Linked DNA regions of Homo sapiens: all the other regions are linked to region 3. The links are contacts of gene promoters, found by promoter capture Hi-C in human tissues and cell types (Jung and others, 2019). All regions are on one chromosome and are shown on one strand. The core of a region is centred on a gene start or on the middle of the fragment in contact, and the rest is flanking DNA. Distances in the headings are between cores, read along the strand shown. Region 1 overlaps UBR3 (ubiquitin protein ligase E3 component n-recognin 3). Region 2 has its middle 70 kb from the start of MYO3B. Region 3 holds the start of MYO3B (myosin IIIB).

Region 1 (2,987 bases), core at 31-2,530, 100 kb before region 3:
GTGGGGCAGGATCTTGTGTTGGGGACAGCCCCATCAGAACTGTACGGAGCAAGAAAAGGGGTTATTTTCTAAAAGAACTTATAATGTTATTAATATAAGAAAGCAGCAAAGGATGCTAGGAGGATTTAAAAAACAAACTAGTGGCCCACTACTTTCACATCTTACCTGCCTGGCTCATACACACCCTTCTTCTCATTCACAGTTTCACTTCTGCTGTTGAAAATGATGTAACCATTTTACTTATGACTGCAAATGCATCTGTGACTTTCCCAAATAAGCAACCTGATGTCACATATAGTCCTTACATCATCAGGCCTCTCTGCATCCAGTAGCTCTGAGAGATGTCCATTGTTCCTGTCATTTGTACTCACACCCAGATGGCCTGGAAAATTTTAATTAGTACCTGCTCACCCTGAATTCAATAGTAAGAGAATGAAAATGTTGCAAAGATATATGATACAGTAAGCAAGATTTGCAAGTAGTCATAAAGCTGCAGCTAATATACAGTCAAATATATATGACTTTCTTCTTTTACCATCCGTGATCCAGCACACCTCAACGGATGATTGGATTTGTTTGAGCAAGGATGTGATACCAAACTTTATTCTGAAAGGGCTGAGCTTCTGGTGATTGGTCCTGTCTTTGTTTCTATAAGGCTGTAATCATTCTGTGTTAAATTTCTGCCTTTCAAGCTTGGTCTATGGTAGGGGTGGTGGTAGGGGTTTTTAAGTTCCAAAATATTGCTCTACCAATTGTATGGCAATATTTTTATTCTTCTTGATAGTCATGGTCAATCCCTCCAGGCAATGCGATAAGCCACCCTTGTGATGTTATAAACCGTACTAGAGGTTAGACAGTACATAGCTTGTAAATCCGCAGAAGAGTCCGGAATAGCAGTGAAGCAGAAATTTAAGACCGAATTTTTTTTTCCATTTTAATGTTTACAATTTAATAAATCTCTTGATTGCAGACATGTAAGGCTGTTTGGTAGTATTCAGAAACATCACAGTAATGGCAGTTTTTTCAGTTGGTGTGTAGTCTTCAATAAATATCTATGAAAGTGCTGTCAGACCAGTAAGACTGCATTTATACATCCATCATTTTCAGGATTGTTGGTAACCACAGCCTATTTTCCCCAAATAACCTTGCCTCCTTGTGTCACAAGGCCCAACTCACATTCACCTCAGTAACAGTACCTTTGGTAATAACATCCAAAGTTATATACATTGGGAATGAGGGACTCTTCTTTACACCAAGTATTGTTAGGCAAAAGGTGGCTTTCAGTTCAGGATGTGTTACATGGGCTTTCTTGAAACGCAAGCCCATTGGCCTGATGAATCTTCCATAGATAAGTAGTTTTCTTGTAAAGCCATCTCCAACAAAGCAGACTTTAGTAACCATCCTCCTCTATGCCTGCGTCTTTCTCTTTCCTGTTGGAATAACTTTGAGACAGAGTCTCACTCTGTTGCCCAGGCTTGAGTGCAGTAGAGCGATCTTGGCTTACTGCAACCTCAGCCTCCTGGGTTCAAGTGATTTTCCTGCCTCAGCCTCCTGAGTAGCTGGGATTACAGGCGCCTGCCACTATGCCCAGCTAATTTTTGTATTTTTAGTAAAGACAGGGTTTCACCATGTTGCCCAGGCTGGTCTTGAACTCCTGACCTCAAATGATCTGCCTACCTTGGCCTCCCAAAGTTCTGGGATTACAGGCATGAGCCACTGCACCTGGCTCTGTTCAAATAACTCTTAACACTTCTGTATCTCCCTGGGCAAGTTACATTTAGACAGAGGGACTTTCCATTTTCCTGCTTTCTCTTTTCATTTCGGCTTAATCATACTGGGAAGTACGTTAGCTTGAGGTTGTCCCTCTCTGTCCAGCAGATAGGCAGGTACTGCTCCCTGTGGAGTCTTTCTTTTGTCTGGTGTTTCTCTTTTCATGCATCTTGATGGTCTTTTTCATTTGTATTTTCTCAGCATGGTGCTGTTTAAGATAAAGCTTAGCCTTCAGACCAATCATTTTCTTTGACTTCTTTGAATGTTCATAAGCCTCTCAACTTTCCTTCTTTCCCTTTTTCTCATGGTAATCCAAATGATATCCATGGCATTTACAGTGTAATTCAATATATTTGATCTGTGGCATGGCACAGGCGCAGCCCCTGGGGTGCGAAAATGCTCTCAATTTTTGGGTCTCAGAGACCCACGAGTGAACTCCACACAGGCCGCAACAGGAAAGGCAAGACCGAATTTTAGGTGTAATCATGAGAGGTGTTACAGCTGTTAAATACTTTCCACCTCTTGTTTCCCATACATATGCATTCCAATTGTGAAAAAGGTCACCCATATATACTGGTTGCTGTTTAGAGCATACACATTCTGTAGGTGATTTCTTCCAGCTGGTGCCATCTAAAAGTTTGTAAATTTCATGAATTTCATAATTTTTGTGGCACTGAAAAAATCAGTTTTGTAGTTCATGATTTAAAATACCACAGCTTTTTTCAGATGATTGAATATATGTTAAGATCAGTGAATTCCATGGACATCCACCTGTTGCCTTACATCTCTCTTCATGAGGGAAATTATTGGAGGTAATGTGCTATGGGCTACTGGATAACATGCAGCCTAACCTATAATAAGTGTCAAGTTCAGTGAGGACAAATTGTTATCCCTTCCCTTTAATGGAAGGGTTCCACTGTAATCAACTCATTACAGAATGCCATCCTTGGAGTCCAGGGTTGGGTGCTGAGTATTGGCAAATGATGTATTGTATACTGTTCTTATCATTGCTTCCATGGACACTTAATCCATGAACTTGTTGATGAGGAACAAGCTAGCTTAGTTACTCCACTGATTTAGGTGGATTATGGCTGCATGTAGGTAATGTGAGATGATCTCCATTTAAATTGACTATTACTTACAGTTTCTTAAGATAATAGACTCACTCTACATTTTATCTTTTTTAAGTGTGAATGGAGTAGCATCTAGAAAAATTT
Region 2 (2,700 bases), core at 45-2,544, 70 kb before region 3:
TTTAGTCTTACATGTGGTGATGGAGACCTCTGCCTAAGCTTATTTTCTACAGGGATGGTACACATGCTGAGAATGAAATGGGAGATGGAGATGCTAAAGGATTTAAAAAGAGGTTTTAGATCAAGGTGTTCTAGGCCAGGTACAGGAGAGGTTTACGGGCTCCTACTTTTGCCAAAAGCTCCCCTTACAACTTTACTATCTGTATGTCCTAAAACCATCTCTGTCTCTTATCTTCCTAAAGTTTTCTACCAAATCTTTTCTTTAATTGAATGATATCTTTATTAAGTAAAAATGAAGGATTCTTTCCATTCCACCATCAGTTCAGATTGGGGACCCAGAATATCCCAAACCTTTATGGGGCAGACAACCATCCCTTCTCAAAGTTTCAGGAAGAACTAGTGGAGCTGGTGAAAATAAAATAGGGGAAGAGCTTAGGGTCATCTAGGAAGCAATTTAATGTCATTTAATATTACAAAAGGAATCTAAAGGCACCTAGCATCTCCAAGTTCCATTTTGACCCCATAACTCAAGAGTTGTGGTTGTGAAAGTCCTTGTTAAGAAGGAAATTTGAAGGAAAGACTATTAAGTAGAACATTTCAGACATCCCCTTTACGGCCACTGGAGATTCTACCGGAGCAGCTCCCTCCAGCTGACCTGATGGGTTACAGCTCAGCTCTGGGTCGTTTTTTGGATTCCTCCAGATTTCTGCCAAGCCCTGGGTTGCCCATTCCTCTCCTCCTATCAGCATTCCCATGTTTATCAGTCTGTTTCAAGCTCTCTTTGAATGGCCTCCTGCTGGTGGATGACCCTGTCATTATTAGGATGTCCCATGCCTCAAACTCCTTTTACCCTCCACAGACTTTTATCCTTATTTCAAGTTGATGCAGGGCAGATAATGGTTTTCCTGACCTTTTGTCTCCTCTGCCTTAGATACAGAAAGAACCCTGATCCTGTGTCTATGGGTGGCAGTCAACTTGGGGTCATGAAAATTGCCAGCTTCTTATAAACAGAGCTCTGAAACATGCCAGAATTTATTGTTCAAGCACCTGAACAAGCCAATTCAGCCCAAACAGGGTAAACCCACACTCTAAGCCCAGGCCCACTTCGTGTGAATAGCTCACCCACCTCCCCAACCCCTGCAAGTTCCATGAATCTTGCCCCATAGCAGGCTACAGCCAGTCTTTGCTTATGGTAACTCCAAACTGGTTCTAAAAGTTTCTTCCAGGAGATTCACACAAAATACTTTTCTCCTAGCAGAGCAGCTTGGTTTGATTTGGGCTATTTGACTACAAAAGCCCAGAGGCCATGCATTTATTTCAAAATATTAGGAATCAGCAGCACAAATGAGATTGCATTTTTGTGAAAAGTTAAAGATTTCTCATTTAGGGAGAGAGTTCACAAAGGACCCCATTAGCCAAGCCTCACCAGTAATTAGTCTGATTTCTCATGCAAAAGGCAGGCTAATTGTCTGCCATCCATTCCAAAAGACAGAGACACTTTAAAACCTACCACCCATTGAAAAATATCTCTGGAGAATTTTCTGCTATATCTGAAGTATTTTCCATTAACGAAATGTTCAAACTAAAATTAATATATGAAGTTATGAACAAAGTGGCTGACTATAAATATGTCTTTTCAAATGTCAAAACATGGGCCTATTACTTATGACACTGAACTATAGAGAAATGGAAAGGGGCTGATATTTATAAAGCAATACTGTGAAATATACATTATTATTTAATAGATGGGGCAACTGAAGCTCAAAGAAGGTAAACAACTTTCCCAAAGTCACACAACGAGTTAGTGGCAGAGCTGGGATTCAATGGGTTAAAGCGAATATCATTTCCACAACCCAATGTGGAGCTTAGGAAGAAAGCAACATCGAGTTAGGGGTGTTTGAGGCTGGGTATCGAGAGATCTGCAGGATGGTCTAGTTTAACTGTGTGATCTCTCAAGGGACAGAATCCATTAGCCAAGTGCATATGATGAGAACAAAGTTGAAACCAGTGTAGCAGAGCCGGTTTTTGAGCCTAACCTGTGCTCACCTGAGAGCTGGACTTGTCTCACTAGGTTTGATAGACCAATGGCCCATCTAGGATATATGCACATAGCATGTTGGCCCATGACAGTGTCCTGGAGGACACGGCTATAGTCAAACTCATGCACACGAAGCCTGCAGCAGCAATGGTGCTGTATGCTTCAGAAACATTTCTCTCCATGCAGACAACTTGAGACACTGGCAGCTTTGGTGTGAATCGCTCACCCACCTCCCCAACCCCTGCAAGTTCCATGAATGCATCAAGAGGTCCCTGGAAGCAGCAAAGCCATGCTAGATCAGAAACACTGACCTCTTGGCTTCTTCCTCTCTGCTCCTCTCTAATGCCAGAGTGTGGCTCTATTCACTCCAGCTTGTCCACATAATGTCCTCTGCTCCTGCTCCTCCATTCCAGTAGGCAATGACTGCTGCCACTGTTCCCATGCTGCACCCCAAGGTCTCCCAGCAGTCACAATGCTGGGGTGGGGTGAAGTCCCTTCGTCCTGAGTTCCCAAAGCCACAGCCCTTCTGTTTCTTCAAGAGTTTTCATGGGTTCTGCCCCATTATTGATACCTCCTTCAGTCCTATGGGTCCCTAGGAGCCACATAGAAATAGACCCCCAATGAGCCTGTGCTACTGCACAAAAATGTACAGATGTGACTAAA
Region 3 (2,700 bases), core at 1-2,500:
ATGTGCAAATACTGTAGGAAATATAGGAAGATAGAACACATTATCCCCATTCTTAAGATTCTTATGACAGTAAATGGAAACACAAAGGCCATTATTGACTAGCGGGAGTAAGATCGCTGTCCTTTAAATCACCTTCTTCATATTTGCATTCTCTGTGTGCTGTTTCTTGGCTCTGGGTTTCTCTCCTGCCTCATCTACACTAATCCTTTTCACTTCTTCATTCAAAACTGTACCTAGATTTATCTGCTCCAGGAAGCATTCCCACTCAAGTCTTGGTCCTGGGTTGAACTGACTCCTCCTCAGAATTGATGGATATAGCTTATCCAGTGTTATTGCACAGTCTTCAACTATTTCACATGGGCCTATGTGTCATGTTAGCTGGCCAGAAAAGAAGCTTTCTGGGGACCCTACCCTCCTGTTTCTCACTTCCCCTCTCTCCCTTTTTTTTTTTTTTTTTTTTTTTTGAGATGGAGTCTTACTTTGTTGCCCAGCCTGGAGTGCAGTGGCAGAATCTCTACTCACTGCAACCTCCGTTTCCCAGGTTCAAACAATTCTCCTGCCTCAGCATCCCTGGTAGCTGGGATTACAGGCGCACACCACCATACCCTGCTAATTTTTGTATTTTTAGTAGAGATGGGGTTTCCCCATGTTGGCCAGGCTGGTCTCGAACTCCTGACCTCAGGTGATCCACGAGCCTTGGCCTCCCAAAGTACTGGGATTACAGGCGTGATCCACCATGCCCAGCACCACCCCCCCACCCCCTGCCTCCTCTTAACCTACTGTTCTGTATATAGCCCAGGGCATGCTACTGAATGAATAGTCACTGTTGAATAGTCACTGTTTCATTGCTTGGTAATTCAGATCAGAAACTCATGGTGTTTCCCCTGGGTTTATCTGCAGTTCAGAAAAGTGACCCTGACTACATGCTTTGATTATGCCCTTTGCTCACAAAAAGATGATTAGTTTTGATTGTGCAGCATTTGGAATGAAGGAATTTAATCTGGAATGAAGGAACTTTAAAAGGTTGGGGGAATATCACATTGGAACTGTTAAATGACATGCAAACAGGATCTGTGAGAATGGTTTTGATTCTGCTCTGTGTCCTGGTAGGAGACACTAAATAGATCAGGCTCACTACCAATTAGCATCATCTTAATCTTGCCTAATAGTGAAGCAAAGTCACCAAGGATTTGGTGGATTTATCAGCTCCTCCCACAATAGTCATCTGAGGCTAACACCTCTTGGAACCTAGATCGAAAGTCCTTTGGTAATGATGTGTCATACATTCTAGTCATCAAAGACACCATTTTCTGGGCCTGAAGTGTTCTGCTGGTTTTTGGAGGAATGAGAATCCAATCTCTCATAAGCCGGATTCAGAAAATAGGTCATCGATGTGAGTTGCAGTTATTTTCCTTCCAGCTTTCTTCTGTGCTTGCTTTAGATTGTTTTTCTGCAAAGGGCAGATGCAGCTGCCCTGGCTGGTGGGCAGTGGAGGGGGATGACAGCCACTCTGGCTTTGGGCCTCTGTCTGACATCACCCAGATTCCTGGGTCCTCTCAGTTAGCATTTGCCTTTTGTCTGGGTGGTTAAATTTCTCTTGAAGGAGTAGGATAAACACCCTCTTGAGTATTGCTTTTTACACAGACACACACCACACACACACACACACACACACACACATACACACAGCATAGTTCATAGTCACTTGATTTGCCACCTGCAGTTTATAATAGAATGGACCTGTGGGATTATAAACCACTTTATTTCTGCACAGAATTTCTCAGCTTGAGGCCAAATTGAAGGGCATTAGTCATCAGTAATTTGCAGATGTTTTTAATGTTTTTCACCCAAGAGAGGTTTCAGGCAGCTAAAGCTAAGATAAATTTCCTCATGCTTTGGTGGGGAAATGAAAAATCTGATCATTTAGTTAATCATTTGTAAGAGCTGTGGGTATGTATTGTTCCTTAGTGACTGCAATATCATGACAGATTTGTTAATTTGGTAACATGACAATGTAAACAATAGTAGATAAATTCCATTATGCCATGATTCTTTTCTTCCTCTCAGTAATTTTGTATATTCAAGGTTTAAAATCCATAGAACATTAGAGATGGAACTTAGAGATCAACCTAGAGATCATTGGATTCCTCTACCAAGCTCTGTCAAATGCCAGTCCTGAGTGTCTCCCCTGGAGCATCAGGATAAATAGCTAATGCATGGGGGGCTTAATAGGTGCAGCCAACCCACCATAGCACATGTTTATCTGTGTAACAAACCTGCACGTCCTGCACATGTAACCTGGAACTTAAAATAAAATAAAATTTAAAGAAAGGAAAAGAGTACATAATCAGTGGAACCATAAAGGTCAGTTCTAGTGGGAAAATTAGGAAAGGCCTCCTAGAAGAGAAGACATTTGAGCTATACTTGAACAGGCCCTATCTAGCAGCATCCAGATAGGTGGTTTGTGAAGAAGCCAGTTCCTACTCTTACGTCTTTACCATGGTTATGGTTTGAATGTCCCCTCCAAAGATCATGTTGAAATTTAATTGCCATTGTGAGAAGAAATGGGACCTTTAAGAGGTGACTAGGTCATGAGGGCTCTGCCCTTATGAATGGATTAATGCTGTTATTGTGGGAGACGGCTCCTAGTAAAAGGATAGGTTCAGTCTCCTTTTTCTCTCTCTTGAGCTCTCACTCTCT

The links. Contacts are between HindIII fragments. The study calls those that stand out against the background at their distance.
Region 1: a contact is called between a fragment that was not itself captured here and the fragment with the promoter of MYO3B in region 3, in 2 of the 25 tissues and cell types used here (H1 embryonic stem cells and adrenal gland).
Region 2: a contact is called between a fragment that was not itself captured here and the fragment with the promoter of MYO3B in region 3, in 5 of the 25 tissues and cell types used here (H1 embryonic stem cells, IMR-90 fibroblasts, liver and 2 more).

Annotation. Positions count from the first base shown.
Region 1 is chr2:170,076,158-170,079,144 of GRCh38, forward strand. The region is part of intron 36 of UBR3 (ubiquitin protein ligase E3 component n-recognin 3); the gene reads left to right. It also overlaps the pseudogene NSA2P5. Among named protein-coding and RNA genes, the nearest start is that of MYO3B, 100 kb to the right of the region's middle. RefSeq lists an enhancer at 1,619-2,398. The HindIII fragment of the contact is 5,181 bases long and covers 1-2,987 here.
Region 2 is chr2:170,106,865-170,109,564 of GRCh38, forward strand. No RefSeq gene overlaps it. Among named protein-coding and RNA genes, the nearest start is that of MYO3B, 70 kb to the right of the region's middle. RefSeq lists an enhancer at 1-19. The HindIII fragment of the contact is 5,361 bases long and covers 1-2,700 here.
Region 3 is chr2:170,176,897-170,179,596 of GRCh38, forward strand. MYO3B (myosin IIIB) reads left to right here and starts at 1,251. Exons shown (of 35, transcript NM_138995.5): 1 at 1,251-1,393. The coding sequence starts at 1,392. The HindIII fragment of the contact is 10,734 bases long and covers 1-2,700 here.